3 separate regions of the Homo sapiens genome follow, and regions 1 and 3 are each linked to region 2. The links are contacts of gene promoters, found by promoter capture Hi-C in blood cells and fetal thymus (Javierre and others, 2016). All regions are on one chromosome and are shown on one strand. The core of a region is centred on a gene start or on the middle of the fragment in contact, and the rest is flanking DNA. Distances in the headings are between cores, read along the strand shown. Region 1 overlaps KANK1 (KN motif and ankyrin repeat domains 1). Region 2 holds the start of DMRT1 (doublesex and mab-3 related transcription factor 1). Region 3 overlaps KANK1 (KN motif and ankyrin repeat domains 1).

What was found. Contacts are between HindIII fragments. The CHiCAGO score rates a contact against its expected background, and 5 or more counts as called.
Region 1: a fragment that was not itself captured here is called in contact with the fragment with the promoter of DMRT1 in region 2 in 1 of 17 cell types (monocytes); the score reaches 5.5 in monocytes.
Region 3: a contact is called between a fragment that was not itself captured here and the fragment with the promoter of DMRT1 in region 2, in 3 of 17 cell types (total B cells, fetal thymus and total CD8 T cells). The highest score is 5.4, in total B cells.

What each region holds. Positions count from the first base shown.
Region 1 is chr9:602,306-605,426 of GRCh38, reverse strand. The region is part of intron 1 of KANK1 (KN motif and ankyrin repeat domains 1); the gene reads right to left. Among named protein-coding and RNA genes, the nearest start is that of KANK1-AS1, 82 kb to the left of the region's middle. The HindIII fragment of the contact is 5,861 bases long and covers 1-3,121 here.
Region 2 is chr9:839,684-842,946 of GRCh38, reverse strand. It overlaps DMRT1 (doublesex and mab-3 related transcription factor 1), which reads right to left and starts at 1,250. Exons shown (of 5, transcript NM_021951.3): 1 at 755-1,250. The coding sequence starts at 1,108. The HindIII fragment of the contact is 3,804 bases long and covers 1-2,834 here.
Region 3 is chr9:619,007-622,276 of GRCh38, reverse strand. All of the region lies in intron 1 of KANK1 (KN motif and ankyrin repeat domains 1), which reads right to left. Among named protein-coding and RNA genes, the nearest start is that of KANK1-AS1, 65 kb to the left of the region's middle. RefSeq lists an enhancer at 1-940. The HindIII fragment of the contact is 3,244 bases long and covers 1-3,149 here.

The DNA of each region.
Region 1 (3,121 bases), core at 385-2,884, 240 kb after region 2:
CTGCCTGTTTTAGATGCCCCTTCATCTGAATTCAGAGCTTAACATATGGCTAAGCAAATGCTTTACTATCTGAGAGTGATTATCTTTCCTCATGGCTAGTATTAGATTTTTTTTTTTTTTTTTTTTGAGACGGAGTCTCACTTTGTTGCCCAGGCTGGAGTGCAGTGGTTCAATCTGGGCTCACTGCAACCTCTGCCTCCCACGTTCAAGTGATTCTCCTGCCTCAGTCTCCTAAGTAGCTGGGATTACAGGCGCGTACCACCACACCCAGCTAATTTTTCTATTTTTAGTAGAGACAGGTTTCATCATGTTGGTCAGGCTGGTCTCAAACTCCTGACCATGTGATCTGCCTGCCTCGGCCTCCCAAAGAGCTGGGATTACAGGCGTGAGCCACCACTCTCAGCAGGAGGTTTCTATTAAAAACAAATGAGATGGTATTTGCAAACTGTCAGACATTGCCCAATTGCATTAGTCCATTTTCACACTGCTATAAAGAACTACCTGAGACTGAGCAATTTATGAAGAAAAAAGGTTTAATTGACTCACAGTTCTGCATGGCTGGGGAAGCCTTAGGAAACTTACTATTATCATTATTTTTTGAGAGAGTCTCACTCTGTTACACAGGCTGAAGTGCAGTGGCACAATCTTGGCTCACTGTAACCTCCATCTGTCAGGTTCAATCGATTCTCCTGCCTCAGCTTCCCGAACAGCTGAGATTACAGGTGTGCGCCACCCGCCCGGCTAATTTTTGTTTTTTCAGTAGAGACAGGTTTCGCCATGTTGGCCAGACTGGTCTTGAACTCCTGACCTCAAGTGATCTGCCCGCGTTGGTCTCTCAAAGTGCTGGGATTACAGGTGTGAGCCACTGCACCCGGCCAGGAAACTTATAATCACGGTGGAAGGCCAAGGGGAGGCAAGGACCTCTTCTTCACATGACAGCAGGAGAGACAGAGAGAGACATGGGTGCAAGGGTGAAACTGCCAAACACTTTTAAACCATTAGATCTCATGAGAACTCCCTCGCTATCAGGAGGACAGCATGGGGTAAACCATCCTCATGATCCAATCACCTCCCATCAGGTCCCTCCCTCAACACGTGGGGATTACAATTTGAGATGAGATTTGGGTAGGGACACACAGCCAAACCACATCACCAGTACAATGTCTGACACATAGTGCTCATTCAATAAATGGTCATTATTAGAATCATCATTATTGTTTACCACGTCTCCAGGAAAGAGACAAATTTAAGGACCAGAATAATCAGAACAATAACGTATTTGGTACTTTGAATATCAGCTGTAACATTAATCTTAGACACTAATTTATTATGAACTGGTACCCCAACTTTTTGCTGAAATCACTGACACTCCATTCTCCTCCCCAAACATAAAGTGAATGAAAAAACAAAGACAAAGAAACCAAGCATGGTAAGGCCAAAATAATTTTACTTTTTTTTTTTTTTTTTTGAGACAGAGTCTTGCTCTGTCACCCAAGCTGGAATACAGTGACGTGATCTTGGCTCACTGCAACCTCTGCCTCCCGGGTTCAAGTGATTCTCCTGCCTCAGCCTCCAGAGTAGCTGGGACTATGGCGCACACCACCACACCCAGCTAATTTTTGTATTTTTAGTAGAGACGGGGTGGGTTTCGCCACATTGGCCAGACTGGTCTCGGACTCCAGACCTCAGGTGATCCGCCCGCCTCGACCTCCCAAAGTCCTGGGATTACAGGTGTAAAGCCACCATGCCTGGCCTACATTTTTTAGAAGAGAAAAATTCAAACGAGTATATTAATTAATGATAGAATCTAAGTAAAATATTTTGCTGTTCTAGAACTAGGGAAAGGTAAGGAAAAAGATGATTTTAGAGTTAAGGAACTGTTAAGAGTAAGAATTACTGAATGTCAATGTGATGTCTCTCTGCATAACTAGGTCTAAAGGCACCAAGAATATGACTTACATTACTAACCTTTACATTAGATGGAAGACACACAAACTGCTCTTAGTGAATTCTTCTGGCTGAGTTATCATACTATGATTAGCTATCAAAGCTACTTCAAGTTCTTATTGCTGCAAAGATAATTTACACATTCAGGGTCAAAGTCAGCCAGCCACGTTTCTGAACTGAAAACAATTCAATACTAGGCTTTATCTGCCAGTTGAGATTTGTGCCACACTCTGACACATTTAACATCATCTCCAAATTAATGTGCCCCAGGGATGGGATGAGTAGGGAAATTTCTTACACAATGCCACGGTCCAGAGGAAAAACATCCTTGAAAAAGATTCATCTTTCAAATCCTGATATAAATCTACTCTTAGATCTATATTCCAAAAGAGAATAAGAGACTCTTTCCCCATATGTAAGAAACAGGTGGTAAGGCCCACAAATGAGCTCTGAAGTAGAACAAAACGCTAAGGAAGATAATTATCACTGTGGATAAATATGATTTGTAACTATGATAACCCCATCAGCCACACGTGGAATGTGCCTTGACTGCATGTTTGGTTTTCACAGAAATAGCTCTTCAAGAGTTGAGATGTAATAGCAAAAATATGAAAAATTACAAAGGAGTCATGCTGGAATCTCATCTAAACAAGATCTATTTTGCAAGAACTAAAAGCGCAGTCAAAAGAAGTTATACTGAATCATCAAGGAGAACAGGCTTTCAATCTAAAATATTTTGTCAATGTCCTCTGACCGTAAAGACTTCACACATAAAATTATAAGGACAAAAATAACTTATCAAAAGTTTATGCAAAAAGAGTTACTTTATTATAGGATGATGAATCTGTAGTTACACATTGTAAATCCAGGTATTTACCTCTATAACTAACCAAAAGATATTCTCATTAAAATATGGAATGGGGGCCGGGTGCAACAGCTCACACCTATAATCCCAGCACTTTGGGAGGCTGAGGCAGGCGGATCATGAGGTCAAGAGATTGAGACCATCCTGGCCAACATGGTGAAACCACATCTCTACTAAAAATACAAAAATTAGCTGGGCATGGTGGTGCATGCCTGTAGTCCCAGCTACTTGGGAGGCTGAGGCAGGAGAGTCGCTTGAACCCAGGAGCGGGAGGTTGCAGTGAGCCAAGACCACACCACTGCACACCAG
Region 2 (3,263 bases), core at 1-2,500:
GCGGGAGCGAAGATCCTGAAGACTCCTCTAGCGCAATAAACCCTCCCAATTCTGTTGGAACGCGGGCTCTGGGATCGCGGGGAAGCCCAGAGGGGCGAACCCCGGAATTCCCTGCCCTGAGAGCGGGATCAGGGATCTCAGGGACCCGGGAGCAGAGGGAACCCCCGCAACTCCGCCGAAACACAGGGTGAGAGATCGTGGGGAACCCCGAGCCGAGCGAAGCCCGCAACTCTGCCCGGCGGGCGGGATCAGACGCGTCTCCGGCGCTCCCAGACCGGCGATGTAGCGTGGCCGGGAGCCCAGGACCCCAAGCGCCGCCGCTGTCGGCAAGTACCGCCGCATCTCTCCACAACCCAGGACCCGCATGGCAACGGCCATGCTGGGGGGACTTCATTCAAGAAACTCGGGCCCCGCCGGGAGCGGTGGCCCACGCCTGTAATCCCAGCACTTTGGGAGGCCGAGGCGGGTGGATCACCTGAGGTCAGGAGCTCGAGACCGGCCTGACCAATATGGTGAAACCCCCGTCTCTACTAAAAATACAAAAATTAGCCGGGCATGGTGGTGTGCGCCTGTAGTCCCAGCTACTTGGGAGGCTGAGGCAGGAGAATTGCTTGAACCCGGGAAGCGGAGGTTGCAGTGAGCCAAGATCGCGCCACTACACTGCAGCCTGGGCAACCGAGCGAGACTCCATCTAAAAAAAAAAAAAAAAAAAAAAACTAAGGCTGAACCCGGGCTCCCGCACGCCCGCACCCACCTGCGCGGCCATCACGCGCTGCCTCTCGGCGATCAGGTTGCACTTCTTGCACTGGCAGTCGCGCCACATGCAGAAGCGCTTGTGGCCCTTGAGCGGCGAGGCGTAGCCGTGGTTCCTGCAGCGTGCGCACTTGGGCAGCCGCGGGGACTTCTTGCTCCCGGCACCCAGGTCCGACGCCCCGGAGCCGGAGCCGCCTCCTCTGCTGCTGCCCCCGGCGCTCGAGCCGCTGGCCGCCCCCACTAGCGCCCCAGACGCTTTGCCAAAGCCCCCGGCTCTGCCCTGCGGCGGTACCCCGGGGGCGTGAGGGGCTTCCGACGGTGTAGAGGGCTTGCTGAATGCCTCGTCGTTGGGCATGGTGCCCCTAGGAGAAGTGCGAGCACTCTGGCCCCCTCTCTCGCCTGGAGACTGCTGCGAGGGATGAACCCGACGGACAGCGACGCTCCGGAGGAGGAGGCGCAGGAGACGTGTGCGCTGCAGCCGGAGGCGCAGCTGGAGTGGCGAGGTCTGGGCACGCCACGCCCGGAGTGGTGGGGGGTTGTGCCTTTTCTTTTGGCGCGCGCGCGACTCAGAACTTTCGGATACTTTTCAGAACATTCCCGGGACTGCCTGGGAGGGAGCGTGGCCACGCCCACCGCCCCCCGACTCCAGCCACCGCTCTCCAGCTGCTTGCAAACTTGCACCGGCTGCAAGCATCCAGGGCTTTGCTGCAGGGTCCCTGCAAGCGCACCGAGAGATACAGAGCGGCCTGGGAATCGCGTGGCACCCCTCGCCCCGCTCTCGGAGGCGCCAAGACCCGGTTGCCAAAGCACGGTGCACCGAGGAAGCTGGGCTCCCCAGGTCAAGACCAGAGCCGTGCTTGCATGCTTAGAGGAGGTGCAAACCACCCTATGGGGTCTTCTAGCTCCCTTTCCCCCAGAGAGACGCACCAGATTTGATAGAGCCGACCTTGGCAGCAGCCAAGTCAGAAAAAAATTTTTTTTCTCGCTTAAGAGAATTAAATATGAGGTGGAAGGCCTGAGAAATTTATAGGGTAAATCAGAGTTGCCCTATATACGGCAAAGAAGATCCTCAGTGTTGGGGCACAAGCACTTCAAAAATCTCAAAGGTTGGAACTTTCTGTTCTCCGTTTATCCCTTCCTGCACCTGTCTTCATTTGCTCACAACACTTCTACCTCCTTCGCTCCAAATAACTTTACGATCTACTGTTGCAGCCCGTGTTCCCGTTCACTTCAGGTGCATATAGCTTCTTGTCTGTGAGGCTGTTTAAACTTAGACTCTGCAGGCACGGGAAACTCAAACTTAAAAAGAAACATATGTATTAAAAAAAACTGAGGTTGTGGGGGGTGGTTACACAGATGTAGAAATGTATCAAAACTCATTCTACACTTCATATCTTGCATTTTACAGTATGTCATTATACCTCTACACACACACACACACACACACACACACACACACACACACACACCCCTGGCTCGATCATCTTACAGCCTGTCCCAGGGTTCTCATCCTGAACTCCCGCCCCAGCCATGCCTGTGTCCTCTCTGCACCTGCACAACAAATGTATCCCTAAGGCCTGCTGAGCAGTTCTTCCTACACACCCACGTGCCCCCCTAAGGCCAGCCCTTCACCTCAAGTCTGAATCTCTGCGGTAGCTCCCAGCTGCTATCTCCATGTCTTAGTCTTCCGGTATATTCTATACACACAGCAGGGGGCCCCAGCAGTACTTTGCTATTGTTTTCCATGTTAACAAGTTAAAGACCCCGGAGTGGCTCTTAATGCACTTTGAATGCTCCTTATTTTCCACCAGCACTGGTACTCACCTTCAGGATCCTGGGCCGCCTCCAGACCTAGGGGATTATTTCTCCAAAGAGGCATGGTCACCCTGTTCAACTTCTCATCAAAATGGTTGTACTGTGGCCACCTCTTTCAGCAGTTTGGTGTTTTCAGCACTGAGTTCTGAAATCCTCGAATCTGCCTTTGGAGCTCTAATTCTGAGGCCTCTCTCACAGGCCCTTTCCCTCAGTCTGAAATTTCTCCATTAGTATTCTCTGTCTGAAAATTACTTCCAAAAGAAGCTTCTAGCTTTACACAGCACCTCATACCCTACCTGTGAAACCAGTGAAGCTCTACTCCTGACAGGAGCTAGGATGCAACAATCTATTCCATCCTGGAAACTTATAAATGATAACCACTTAAATCTTCCATTAAAACAATCTTCCATTAAAACACGCATGTCAATTGCTGTTATCCAATATTTATGTTCTTTTTCCAGATTTATATTTTATTTATTTAATTTTTAGAGATAGAGTCTTGCTCTGTTGCCTGGGCTAGAGTGCAGTGGCACAGTCATAGCTCACTGTAGCCTCCAGTTTCTGGGCTAAAGGGATCCTCCTGCCTCAGCCTTCCAAGTAGCTGGGACTAGAAGCATGTGCTACCACGCCAAATTTTTTTTTTTTTTTGAAATGGAGTCTCGCACTGTCACCCAGGCTGGAGTGCAGTGGCGCGA
Region 3 (3,270 bases), core at 278-2,777, 220 kb after region 2:
GAAGTGACAATATACACAGATTATTAACTTCTTTGTGCTCCAAGGGAAGTCTTTTATGGATACTAAAAGTAGAAGTCATTAGTTCCAAATAAATTTAAACAGGTTTCAGGTATTCTTCTACTGACCGAAATTAGACCATTCCTTGTCCCCCTTTTCCTTCCATCCCTTATAAATTCCCATGACACAACAAACGAACAAAAGCTCTAAAAGTAGACTGTTGTATGAAAAAGACCCTGAACCTATCAGTTTAAAGAAAACCTGGAAAAATTTTTAATGAAAACCAAACTTAGTATCTTTTCTTCTCCTCTTCCCTCCTTCCTTCCCAAGAGGCTTCGGCAGCACCAGGGCTCCCCAGAACAAACCAAAGCCCTTTGGTGGAGCATTTGGATTTCATCTCCCATCTGGACTGTACCCCTTCCACCGGCGAGGGCAAAGTTCACATGTGAAGTCTACAGAGTAAGATGCCATGATGGGTAATGTGGGGATTCAGGAACAAGCGAGTGAGTAAGCAGGGCTGGAAACTGAGATTTGAGCTGCGTTTGTGGTAGGCTCTGCTTACGAGATGGGAGGGCAACCCATGCTCTTGCTGAGAGCGAAGGAAAGAGGAACTCACCACTGGCTGGAGGAATGTCCACTCGTCATGGGAAGGCAGAAATGGATTATCAAGTTTCAGACTTAGAAAACAAAGAAAAACTCTAATTGCGGACATTCCTTGCAGTTTAAGATCAGGGTAAATATACCAATACAAAATTACTGGGGTCAAAGGCTTTTGTATGTGTGGTTTTTTCCCGCAGTAATGGGTCACTTGATCAGAAATCCCTGTGTGAACTCACTTTTTTTTGGTAATGATGACATGAGAATTTCCACACTTGCCAAGTCAGTATTACGTGGAACTGAAACCAGACTCAGTGCATATGAAGACTTTGCTCACACTTGTTTTTACTACAGTCAGCAATGCTTCATAAGGCCAAATTTAATGATGTAATTTTGGCAGAGCTAATATAAATAGCTCAAAATTATTAATTTACTTTTGGTTGCAATTATTAACCAATATGTATGTTATGTGATAGCTATCAGTTTTCTATTTACCTTTATTAGGTGAGGCCCCAAAGAAAAATTTTTAGCTAAATATATTAGGTTCTCCAAAGGGTCAGGAAAGGAGCCTGAAAACAGAGAAGAGACTGAATTGAATAGCTTAGATTTCTAGTACTGGGCATTCTGAAAGCGTTTTGGCAATTTATCCCCTAAAAAAGAATTTAGATCAGATGGGAGATAATAAATTAGAGAATTTGATTCAAGAGGCTTAACTCTGGTTAATCAAATGATGACTAATTTCCAATCTGGAATTTGATCAATTAGTAAACTGGTACCCCAAAATTGGTTAAGAGTAAAATTGTTAAGAGGGCTGTAGTCATTTTTAAAAGAGATGTTATTTCTTATTCCCAATCAAATCTTATATTGCTGAATTCTATTATGCTCCAATATTAAATTTTTAAAAGTTGGCTTTTTAAAAATTGGTTTTTAAAATTGGTTTTTGAAAATTTAAAAAGTTGGTTTTTAAAAATTTTTTTAATTTTTAAAAGTTGGCTCACGCCTGTAATCCCAGCACTCTGGGAAGCCAAGGCAGCTGGATCATGAGGTCAGGCATTTGAGACCAGCCTGGCCAACATAGTGAAACCCCATCTCTACTAAAAAAATACCAAAAAATTAGCCGGGTGTGGTGGCAGGCGCCCGTAATCCCAGCTACTCAGGAGGCAGAGGCAGGAGAATCGCTTGAACCTGGGAGGTGTAGGTTGCCGTGAGCCGAAATCACGCCATTCATTGTTCTCCAGCCCGGGTGACAGTGCGAGACTCCGTTCCAAAAAAAAAAATTATAATTATCACTATTTTGCTTTTCTCGCAAAGAATTACGTGTTGTTTACTATGGCCCAAGAAAGCAGGTTTTATTTAGGGGGCAGATCGTTGAAGAGTTAATGTCCTATTCCAAGACAGGGTGGGAAAGGAATGGATGTGATTAATGACACTGAGTAATAGAGGGTACGATGCACATTTTGGAAGACACCAGTGTACCTGACAAAGTTTTCTTGCCTGCCTAGACCTGAAATAGACAACTGAGAATACAACAAAACAATTTTTTTTTTTTTTAGATGGGAGTCTTGCTCTGTTGCCCAGGCTGGAGTGCAGTGGTGTGATCTTGGCTCAACCTCTGCCTCCGAGGTTCAAGCGATTCTCCTGCCTCAGCCTCCCTAGCAGCTGGGATTACAGGCGCACACCACCACACTAGGCTAATTTTCTTATTTTTAGTAGACACAGGGTTTTGCCATGTTGGCCAGGCTGGTCTCGAACTCCTGACTTCAGGTGATCTGCTCGCCTCAGACTCCCAAAATGCTGGGATTACAAGCGTGAGTCACTGCACCCAGCCACAACGAAAGAATTTAAACTAGCTAACTCTGCTTGGAAAAACAATCTCACCAGTGGAAGAGCCTGTTTAAAGTATTTAAAAATCATTGCAAATTATTAATATTTTAATGTTTCAACATCTTAATATAGGAATGTATTGCATATTAAATCCTTGAAAATTACAGTACGGCTGATCTACGAACATCTGCATTCTGCAGTCCGTGAGCACCCACAAGTCAAAGGTAAACTTTCTTGTGGATCATCACTTATCTTTATCACTCACTAGATGAATGCTGAAGAGCTATTATCATTATACAGTAGCAAAACTGGTTCCAAAAGAATGATGAATTCAGCTATTCTGAACTAATGTTGGCTCTTCTTTGCGTTAATACTCCCATGTTTTCAAAATTTAAAGCAACTGGGCCACCCAAATCTGACGATAGGCAAAGGGACAATTATACTCTACCCATCCCAAGAAAGAAGGTGCTCTCACATCAGCCTGTCCCTGATGCTGCTGCCCTAATTTAATACTGCTTTGTTCTCTTGCCCCCTCTTCTACCCAACTAGATAAACTAAACAGTGTGATGGTTTTAAGTACTGTGTGGCTTGAAATATAACATTTATACAAACTATTCTTGAGGCACAAATAAGAGGCCTCTCTGAAATTCAAAAGCACTGTAGCTCTCCCCTGTTCCTTTTAAGTATTGGCTGTAAAGCAAGAACTGAGGATTCAGAACTACAAGGAAGCTTTTAACTGACCTGGGTAAGCATTTAAAAAGAGAGGCTTGTACTTAGTTATGGCCATTTTCTCTCCTAAAGGTCCTGTGGATTTTGACCAACAGACACTAAATTTAAGTTCATAAAATGTAG